Regions from separate parts of the Homo sapiens genome. Here region 2 is linked to region 1. Evidence: promoter capture Hi-C in 16 types of primary human blood cells and fetal thymus (Javierre and others, 2016). All regions are on one chromosome and are shown on one strand. Each heading gives the region's core, a stretch centred on a gene start or on the middle of the fragment in contact. The rest is flanking DNA. Distances are from core to core; before and after follow the strand shown. Region 1 holds the start of H2BC12 (H2B clustered histone 12). Region 2 overlaps TRI-AAT2-1 (tRNA-Ile (anticodon AAT) 2-1).

Region 1 (5,406 bases), core at 1,740-4,239:
GGTCAGGAGTTCGAGACCAGCCTGACCAACATGGTGAAACCTTGACTCTACTAAAATTACAAAATTAGCCGGGAGTGGTGGCACACACCAGTAATCCCAGCTACTCAGGAGGCTGAAGCAGGAGAATCGCTTGAATCTGGGAGGTGGAGGTTGCAGTGAGCCGAGATCAGGCCATTGCACTCCAGCCTGGGCAAGAAGAGCAAAACTTCATCTCAAAAAAAAAAAAAAGAAAAAGAAAAAAAGTCAAAGAGCAATACCAGCTATGCACTTATGCATGCTAAAGTCAGTCTCACAGATACTATCATAGACCTTACTTAACATTGATATTTATATTCATGTTAATATATGTCATAGACATGGAAATACACTGCCCAGATCCTCCTTCAAGGAAGGGCTTGCAGCCCAACTGCAGAGAGCACAGTTAGCAGATAGACACCAGCTGTTAGCTTCCTCAGTGTTTGCCTCAGCTGCAGAGCTCCTCCCCACTCAAGGCTGCATCCTTCCCCGGGCAGTCCTCATTCAGTGACCCACAGAGGAGTTAAAAAGGGTGGTCTAGAGCCCCTTTGGCCCAATGTGGGGGCAACTTGACAGGCATACTGGCTCCAGAGCTCTCCACTGGGTTGGTTGAGCATTTGTCTGGCCTGTATCATAGTTTGACATTTTCCTTTGCCCAATCCTATTTCCTTCACCCCTTCACAGATATTGAGCCCTAATAAACATTTTGCATCCCAAACTCCATCTCAGCATCTGTTTATCGAGAACTCATATGTCACTACATTATAATTTCTCGTTCTGCATCTCTTGCATTTCTTTTTCAATTGGGCTTCTGCATGCAAAGACTGGGAGTAGCAAACAAATCTATGTGTATTGAATTACAAACTATGTCCTCTTAAATCTTTGTGAAATACATAAAGTTAATACTATTTTTTGGTGTCTTTTTTAAGTGGCTTGAATTCCGTAGAGAAAAAATAAAGATGTATACATGTAATATTTCAATTAATATATATCCTATCCCCATAGGCATAGAGAGCGTAATGGGGCCCTCCATTTTAGAGAGGAGATAAACAAAGATGACCTCTTTATAGGTGTTACTTGATCAGAGACCTACATAGATTGAAAAAAAGTGAGAAAGGTAGTTATCAGGGGAAGAGGGAATTTAAAGTGCAAAGGCCTTAAGACAGAAAATGTGTTTGGCATTTTGTGGGAATAGCCAGAAAGCCTTGAGGCTATGAAGTAAAAGCAGGCCAAGTAATATCAAGAGGGGGTGGGGCGGAGGAAGGAAACTCATAGGGCTTCCTAGGGTAGGTAAATTAATGTGGACAAGCAATCAAAAGCAATAGCAATCCCGATCTAATAAATTTGATAATACAAATTAGCTAGACAGAAAAAGCTATGTTGTATCCTAAGCTACTACAAGAGTGCATTAATACACCTGCTCCAAAGAAATGGGACTAAGGATTTACAAATATGGGATTCAGGAAATTCTGCATCCCATATTCTCCTTCCATCGGAATCAAATTCTAATGCAAATGAGTCACTAGACTTTCATCACCTGGGTAAAGTTACTCTTAAGAGTTAGACCACTTAAGAATCAGGCTGCCCTTTCTTGCTTTTCAAGAATACTTAGAATTGCAAAATTTGCCTTTAAAGAATGGCAAGTATATCCCATTTTTATGGCTGTTTGACAACACTATTAATGTAATAGAATTATTACACTGGAGGCCGGGCGCTGTGGCTCACGCCTGTAATCCCAGCACTTTGGGAGGCCGAGGCGGGCGGATCACCTGAGGTCAGGAGTTCGAGACCAGCCTGGCCACCATGGTGGAACCCCGTCTCCACTAAAAATACAAAAAAACTAGCCGGTCGTGGTGGTGTGTGCCTGTAATCCCAGCTATTCGGGAGGCCGAGACAGGAGAATCGCTTGAACCTGGGAGGTGGAGGTTGCAGTGAGCCGAGATCGCGCCGCGCCACTGCACTCCAGCCTGTTGGAGACTCCATCTCAAAAAAAAAAAAAAAAAAAAAAAAACCACTGGAATTAGTAAATAGATTTCAGGGATTTGTACGTTTGATTTCACTTATTACCCCTGCTGAATAAGCTTCTCCGGAGTATCCTACAACAACTTTTGGGTCTTCATTGCTTTCCAGTGGGTTAATTTAGAAACATTGTAAAGAGTTGCTCCAGCCCAACCGCGAAAGAAGCGCTTTACAATGTTATCTAGCGAAGCAAACATGAAGTGAAACAAACATGACTGTGTCCAGCTTTCTCTAAGACAGTGTAGAATGGCTCTGAAAAGAGCCTTTGTTTTCCAGTTTTCACAACCTCGCTCCTTATTTGGCCTTATGGTGGCTCTCAGTCTTCTTAGGCAGCAGCACGGCCTGGATATTGGGCAAGACACCACCCTGCGCGATGGTGACTTTGCCCAGCAGCTTGTTGAGCTCCTCGTCGTTGCGGATGGCCAGTTGGAGGTGACGCGGGATGATACGGGTCTTCTTGTTGTCGCGGGCCGCATTGCCAGCCAGCTCCAGGATCTCAGCGGTCAGGTACTCCAGCACCGCAGCCAGGTACACTGGCGCGCCGGCTCCAACCCGCTCGGCATAATTACCCTTGCGGAGCAGGCGGTGCACTCGGCCCACGGGGAACTGAAGCCCAGCCCGAGAAGAGCGGGTCTTGGCCTTGGCGCGAGCTTTACCGCCTTGCTTGCCACGTCCAGACATACTGGTCACAACTTACTGAAAGTAGCCAACGAGGAAAGGCAGCGCCTTTTATAAACACTATTGGGCGCGAAAAAGAAGATATGTCATTGGTTAGGGTTGTAGCTTAGTTTTAACCAATGGAAGTACGTCTTTTGGATTTGCAGATTGGGTTGATTGGGTATAACTAACCTCTGACGTCACCCTAATAACCACCAATCAGATACAGGACTTTCACTCTTCACCTTATTTGCATGAGAGGTCCTATATAAAAACGACTCCTGGTACCTTGCTCCCATTACTTCCCGTTTTCTCGATCTGCTGCTCGTCTCAGGCTCGTAGTTCGCCTTCAACATGCCGGAACCAGCGAAGTCCGCTCCCGCGCCCAAGAAGGGCTCGAAGAAAGCCGTGACTAAGGCGCAGAAGAAGGACGGCAAGAAGCGCAAGCGCAGCCGCAAGGAGAGCTACTCCGTATACGTGTACAAGGTGCTGAAGCAGGTCCACCCCGACACCGGCATCTCCTCTAAGGCCATGGGAATCATGAACTCCTTCGTCAACGACATCTTCGAACGCATCGCGGGTGAGGCTTCCCGCCTGGCGCATTACAACAAGCGCTCGACCATCACCTCCAGGGAGATCCAGACGGCCGTGCGCCTGCTGCTGCCCGGGGAGTTGGCCAAGCACGCCGTGTCCGAGGGCACCAAGGCCGTCACCAAGTACACCAGCGCTAAGTAAACTTGCCAAGTAAGCGTCTTAAAGCCCAACCCCAAAGGCTCTTTTAAGAGCCACTTAAATTATCGATATTAGAGCTGTAAACACGTGTTCCTAATCCAGGCTTAAATTCGGGCGATCTTTTTAAAGGGATTATCATGATCTTATCACACTGAGTAATGCATGCAGTGCTTGTAATCGAGTCTGGCTAAGGAGAAGCCACATACACTTTGTTAGTACTGAGTGAGGAATATGGCGCCTAAAAAATTAGGGATGTGCAGGAAACTTGTGTTAACAGAAAGTGCTTCCTGGCTCTTGGCGCGAAAATGGATACTTCCGTTGTGTCGAGTGCTGTGACTTCCTGTTAGAACTTGTTGAAAGCCTATTGTGTCACGTGTACTTTCCACCATGTAATGGCGTTCTAACGTGAGTTTATATATTAGTAAATTTGGTTCCCGATGGCGTTCCAGTACGTATGGCTTTCGCTCGAGCAGTTACCTTATTTAACCTCTTCTAGGCTGTACCCAGCTCTGCCTTGCTTTGCTTCCCCCTCACCCCCTGATTCCATCTCTGCAGCCCACGGGACATCGGGAAGATGCCAGACCACCAGGCAGGATAGTCTGCAAGGGTAAGGGGAGGAGCACAGCTTTTCTCAGGAGTGAAGAAACGGAACATGAAATCATCACGGAGATTTTTGGAATAGTTTACTAGTTTTTAAGGCATGTTCAGCGTCAATTGGTCCAATCAGTAATTTTTCCTTTTGACAAGAAAGCTTATAGAAAAGGAAAATGAAAAGCAAGTAGATTCAGAGGGGAGACAACAGACAGACTAGAGACAGTCCGCCCCGAAGCAAGAAGTTGGAGTAGAGGAGAAGGGAACTTCCCCAGCAGCACAGGGTTTGAGCTAAGTGTTAGGTGGTGGGTTAGAATTAGGTGGTGGGTTTTATTGTGTGATTAGAGGCTAGAATGACTATGCCGGTGATGAGCAGTGTGAAACTTTTTTGGAAGAACCAAGTGAAAGAAAGAGTCCACGAATTTTAAGCTAGGTTGTTACCTGGCTAAATTTGTGATTTAGAAATGTAGGCCAGTTTCACAGGGGAATTTTGTGTGTGTGTGTGTGTGTGTGTGTGTGTGTGTGTGTGTGTGTATTTAACATATTTGGCCACGCATTGTTCTAGTCTTTGGGGATATTGCCCGCCCTTAGGCATTTGGAGATTAGCAGGGTCATATTGAAAAACTTCATACATGCAAAGCATATGTTCACTGTTGATCCAAGTCTTATTTATCCTACCAGTAATTTTGGGGTTACATTAATATTCTAAGAAATGTATCAACAAATAATTATATTTATTGTTTACCTATATAGGAGGCACTGATCTATATCTATACCTATATAGGAGGGCAGATCACTTGAAGTCAGGAATTCAAAACCAGCATGGCTAACATAGTGTGAAACCCCGTCTCTACTAACAGTACAAAAATTAGGGGGGGCGTGGTAGCATGTGCCCGTAGTCCCAGCTACTCGGGAGGCTGAGGCAGAATTGCTGGAAGCCAGGAGGCAAAGGTTGCAGTGAGCCTAGATCACCTCACTGCACTCCAGCCTGGGCAACAGAGCAAAACTCCGTCGCAAATAAAATTAAAAAATAAACTAAAATACACTATGCCAATGAATTCTACCTTCAGGTATACCTGACTACTTTTTATAGACTAAAATTTTTACTCTGGAGCTATCTGCTGTTATTACCTTTAGACTTACAAACTATTTTTGCAAATGGACATATCATCTTGATTTTATACAATTTACTTTCAGTCCTTTTTGCTCTTTTTACAAAATTCTGGAAGTGCATTTGTGTTTTAATAGAAATACTGGGTGGAAGTGGCCATAACTTTCTCCTGCTTTCACCCTCACCCCTTTTCTCCCTTCAAAATGATCTCATTTTATTTCTCTTGATAGCACAGATTCCGCCCCCCCCCCCCCCCCCAGACAGAGTCTCACTCTGTTGCC
Region 2 (5,467 bases), core at 1,435-3,934, 540 kb before region 1:
AAATACAAAAAACTAGTTGGGCGTGGTGGCGGGCGCCTGTAATCCTAGCTACTCGGGAGACTGAGGCAGGAGAATCGCTTGAACCTTGGAGGCGGAGGTTGCAGCGAGCCGAGATGACACCACTGCACACCAGCCCGCGCGACAGTGCAAGACTCCTCTCAAAAAAAAAAAAAAAAAAAAAAAAAAAAGAAGAAGAAGGCCTGGCGCGGTGGCTCACGCCTGTAATCCCAGCACTTTGGGAGGCCGAGGTGGGCGGATCACCTGAGGTTGGGAGTTTGAGACCAGCCTGACCAAAATGGAGAAACCTTGTTTCTACTAAAAATAAAAAGAATTAGCCGGATGTGGTGGTGCATGCCTGCAATCCCAGCTACTAGGGAGGCTGAGGCAGGAGAATCGCTTAAACCCAGGAGGCGGAGGTTGTGATTAGCCGAGATAGCGCCATTGCACTCCAGCCTGGGCAACAACAGCGAAACTGCGCCTCAAAAAAAAAAAAAAAAGAAAGAAAACAAGATGAAAGAAAAGAAATACCAACTCGTGGCAATTTTATTAATCTATAAACCACTCCTCCCCTTATGTGGTTGGAAGCAAATCTTTTTAATTTTTTTTTTTTTTTGACGGAATCTTGCTCTGTCGCCCAGGCTAGAGTGCAGTGGCGCGACCTCGGCTCACTGCAACCTCCACCTCCCGTGTTCAAGCGATTCTCCTGCCTCAGCCTCCTCAGCCTCCCGAGTAGCTGGGATTACAGGCACCCACCACCGCACCTGGCTAATTTTTGTATTTTTAGTAGAGACGAGGTTTCACCACCTTGGCCAGGCTGGTCTCAAACTCCTGACCTCGTGATCCACCCGCCTCGGCCTCCCAAAGTGCTGGGATTACAGGCATGAGCCACCAAGGCCGGGCCACTCCACTTTTCCTTAAAGCAAAACCTGTCATTCTTCTGTTTCTTACCTCTTAGTTTCTTAGTCCTTTTTTTCCTATTAGCCCTATTTGTATTTATTTGTTATTAATGCACTATGACTAATAAAAACTTGCCTAGGGTCAGAAACTTTGAGCTTTAGCAGAAACAAAAACATACAAACAAAAACTCAGAAAGTTTTTTCAGATAAAGTTTTGTTTTTCAAGTACAATTAAGAGCATGATTCTGCTCAGGCGTGGTGGCTCGCGCCTGTAATCCCAGCACTCTGGGAGGCCGAGGCAGGCAGATCACTTGAGGTCACGACTTCGAGACCAGCCTGGCCAACATGGTGAAACCCCAACTCTACTAAAAATACAAAAACTAGCTGAGTGTGGTAGCGGGTGCCTGTAATCCTAGCTACTGGAGAGGCTGACGCAAGAGAATCTCTTGAACCAAGATAGCGGAGGTTGCGGTGAGCTGAGATCCCACCACTGCACTCCAGCCTGGACAACAGAGCAAGACTCCATCTCAAAAAACAAAAAACAAAAAACAAAAAAAAAAAAGAAAGAAAGAAAAGGGAAAAAAGCATGATTCTGAACAGTTTGGTCATTTTAGAAACTTTTGGGATAAATCTGAATACTCAGAGTTTTCTCTGGCCATAAAATAGAAGATAGGAAAAATGTAAATTTTTATTCATATGGAGAGAAAAGTCACAGTTGTCCCTGTATTATCTTTAAGAAAGCTCCTGTTCTTAATTCTCTAACTAACTGTAATAATATCTCGAAGGACTATCTGTAAAACAAAAGGAAACAACCACCTGTTAAATTCAGAATTCCAAAACATGTAGTTGTATCTCCTGTGTAATATAAACATCCATCTCATGGCCTTGCTTATTAATCATTCTTTAAAAATTATATATAAATTGGTTCTATGACCACTGTAAAAGTACCTGCATTTTGTTTGTTACATAGAAAAGTTTAAGGTTCAATGTAATCTTTAAGGGACCTAAATTGGCATAATAATATTTTCATAATTGGGAGGAGGGGTTATGACTTTCCTTCAATGCATGGGGAAAAACCACTTTGCTGCTTGTGGCAGCAGTATTAACTATAGTTGTAAGATTAGACAGCTTAAGGGTAATACCAACACCAGATGTGGTAGAACAGTGCCAATCACAGAGAAAGAGTCAGAGTACCTCTGTAGTTCCTGTCACGTGAGATGTATTTCTGTCCTAAGCCAATTGGATTATTCTTCCTTTTTCCCATTTTTATTTTTTATTTCGCAGCTGAATGATACATTCTAATGCAACATCCTTAACACTTACCAAGTTCTCAATTAAATCTATTCTGCATGATCCCCTCCTGTCTGGTAAATCTGGTAAATCTTCTCTGAGTCCTTTAGCTTCCTGCTCCCGTATGGATTAGTTGCATTCTAGGTTTCTTGAATAGCTGTCATCCTGTGTTTTTCATTTTTGAGCTCCTAGATCAGATTCATCATTTCCTGAGTTCCATGTCTTTCTCTGTCTTCCCCCCTATTTTCCCTGTAGTATATATATTCAGTTTGCGTCTTAAAATGTAGGTCAGCTTTTTGAGTCATGATAGGTTTATAAATGTCTTTATTCCAACTTCACATTTGATGTTACACATAGCTATAGAATTCTGTATTAAAACATTTTTCCTCCAGATTTTGAGGCATTATTTTGTTTTCTCCTAACATTCATTCGAGGTTGCTGATGAGACGTCTGATGCAGAAAGAGTATCTTTCTCTTGCCCACCACCATTACCTCTGAAAGCTGTTAGAATCTGATGTCGTTTGCTTTCAGTCTTATTCCACCGTGAGCAGGTCTATACAAGTCTACTCCTAAAGGCTGAGGAAGCTGAGAGGCCAAAGAAAGAGGCTGACAAATTCAGTTTCTCAGAAAGAAACATTTAATAACAGAAGCCATGTCTTGAGTGGTAGCAAGACAAGATGATGGATCCCCACATTGTCACCAGCCAAACCCAGGGCTTATGAACCACAGGGAATTTGCCTAAGGGCAGGATTTTTTTTTTTCTTTTCTTTTGAGACGGTCTCCTTCTGTCGCCCAGGCTGGAATGGCCAGATCTTGGCTCACTGCAACCTCTGCCTCCCAGGTCAAGCGATTCTCTTTCCTCAGCCTCTGGAGTAGCTGGGACTATAGGCACGCCCCACCATGCCCAACTAATTTTTGTGTTTTTGGTAGAGATGGCATTTCACCATGTTGGCCAGGCAGGTCTCAAACTCTGGACCTCAAGTAATCTGCCCACCTCGGCCTCCCAAAGTGTTGGGATTATAGGCATGACATACCGCGCCTAGCCTAAGGGCAGGATTTGTGTATGGTAAGTATGTGGTTACAATAACACCAAGGTTGTTTTCACCTAATTGCAGGATTTATTGTACCTCAAAGTAGAAATCTTAGAGGCATTCCCAGAACTGGGGTTAATCAGAAGTCAATATGGTGGGTTACCATCCAAGATGGAGTGGCTTTCAGCTGGGCACAGTTGCAGTTGGCCAAGATCATGCCACTGCACTCCAGCCTGGGCAATAGAGCTACAGTGTCTAAAAAAAATCTATATCTATATCTATATATATATATACACACACACACACACACACATATGCACACACACACATATATACATATATAATATTCATGCACACACATATTTTTGTACTCTAGTTTGTTACTTAACATTATTTCCTTCATATCTTTTCACTAGAGACAGCGGATTGCCACACCGAAGAGTGAGAGATCAATAAATGTTTGTTGAAATTATATATAATTTCCTTTGATTATTGTACAGCTTGGGAGCCCATATTCAAACCTCTTTGATGATCATATGGTCTAGGAAAGAAAGTGCTTTGTTCACCTTATAAGAGAAAATTAAGGGTATCGTCTTCACCACCCTCTTTCCTACGATGAAAAAGCCTGTACTTTGTACAGTGGACAAGAAGTATCTATATTCAATTCCTGGCTAGTAGGATCAACTCATTTGAAAATAAGCTGATTTTTTTTTTTTTTCAGATGGAGTCTCGCTCTGTCGCCTAGGCTGGAATGCAGTGGCATGATCTTGGCTCACTGGAGCCTCGGCCTCCCTGGTTCAAGCAATTCTCCTGCCTCAGCCTCCCGAGTAGCTGGGACTACAGGCGCGTGCTGCCACACCCGGTTAATTTTTGTATTTTTAGTAGAGACAGGGTTTCACCATGTTGGCTGGATGGTCTTTATCTCCTGACCTCGTGATCCACCCGCCTAGGCCTCCCAAATAAGCTCTGCTTTTAACAGTGTACAAAGTTGAAAAGTGCAATTTAAAACATCTAAGATACATTAAGAAAAAGTGTAAATGCAGAACAACGAGTAAATAACTAAGCTCTCTTTTGTGTGAAAAAGAAGAAAAAATAATCAATATAAATGCAGTATTTAAATAAAGAAACCCAGTAGGGATATATGAGAAATTAAGGACAGAGTTTACCTATAGTAGGTGGTGGTGAGAATTGAGCTGATGAAGAATAAAAATGGAAGGAAAGGCCAGGCAGCGTGGCTCACGCCTGTAATCCCAGCACTTTGTGAGGCCGAGGTGGGTGGATCGCCTGAGCTTAGGAGTTCGAGACCAGTCTGGCCAACATGGCGAAACCCCGTCTCTACTAAAAATACAAAAATTAGCCAGACATGGTGCTGCACGCCTATAATCCCAGCTACTCGGGAGGCTGAGGCAGGAGAATAGCTTGAACCTGGGAGACAGGGGCTGCAGTGAGCCAAGATCGGCCCACTGCACTCCAGCCTGGGCTACAGAGCAAGACTCTGTCTCAAAAAAAAAAAAAAAAAAAAAAAAAAAAAAAAGAAAGAAAGAAAAGAGAACTTTTTACTATATCTTTTTAAATTGTCTTTAAAATGTTTCTTTGTATAATAATAAGGTGTTATTTATTTTTTAAAAAACTCTTAAATTAGAAAAATATTTTTAAAGGTATGTATCCTGTTCACATTGGAATAAGCGTTCAGAGTATATAAAACAAAGATCTTTGTCATTGTTATCGTTGAAGTTTTTGAAAATTTTTCTTTCTCACTTTATAATCTTGTTTTCTCTTAGACTGAAATGAAGAAAACGGAATGACCCAGCATGAGTGATACAAACGGTGGGTGGTTTTACATGCGTTTTTTTTTTTTTTTTTGGAAGTAATCAAATAATTCAGTATTTTACTCCAAGAAAATTTCCCCGGGGCAGAGGAGGACAAAAATCACAAAAGCCTCCAACCGTAACGTACCTCTGTCACTGTAAGGTGCCTATAGCCCCTTTGTTTTACGGGTAGGATGTGGGTATGCCTTGGAGGCAGCGGAAAGAAACGTCCCCGTTCAAATTAACCGCTGTCGAGTAAGCGAGGGCGCACCAAATTCACAGATCCGTTTTCTCGGGGCAAAGTTAAGCCTGGAGAAACACACAGGTACACGTTTAGATCGATGTCTGGGTTACTATCCATTCTGGTGATAAAAGCCACAGAGAATACTTGGCCAGTACGGGGATCGAACCCGCGACCTTGGCGTTATTAGCACCACGCTCT

What was found. Contacts are between HindIII fragments. The CHiCAGO score rates a contact against its expected background, and 5 or more counts as called.
Region 2: a fragment that was not itself captured here is called in contact with the fragment with the promoter of H2BC12 in region 1 in 11 of 17 cell types (erythroblasts, fetal thymus, megakaryocytes and 8 more); the score reaches 11.9 in erythroblasts.

The regions. Positions count from the first base shown.
Region 1 is chr6:27,144,438-27,149,843 of GRCh38, reverse strand. H2BC12 (H2B clustered histone 12) reads left to right here and starts at 2,989. Exons shown (of 1, transcript NM_001312653.2): 1 at 2,989-3,483. The coding sequence starts at 3,046. The coding sequence ends at 3,426. It overlaps H2AC12 (H2A clustered histone 12), which reads right to left and starts at 2,738. Exons shown (of 1, transcript NM_080596.3): 1 at 2,282-2,738. The coding sequence starts at 2,715. The coding sequence ends at 2,329. MIR3143 (microRNA 3143) reads right to left here and starts at 2,218; the gene lies at 2,156-2,218. RefSeq lists a silencer at 523-572 and enhancers at 2,352-2,601, 2,932-3,391, 2,646-3,562, 3,982-4,091. The HindIII fragment of the contact is 2,078 bases long and covers 2,099-4,176 here.
Region 2 is chr6:27,688,209-27,693,675 of GRCh38, reverse strand. TRI-AAT2-1 (tRNA-Ile (anticodon AAT) 2-1) reads right to left here; the gene lies at 5,415-5,467. Among named protein-coding and RNA genes, the nearest start is that of TRI-AAT2-1, 2.8 kb to the right of the region's middle. RefSeq lists a silencer at 5,242-5,467 and a cis regulatory region at 5,014-5,467. The HindIII fragment of the contact is 6,174 bases long and covers 1-5,467 here.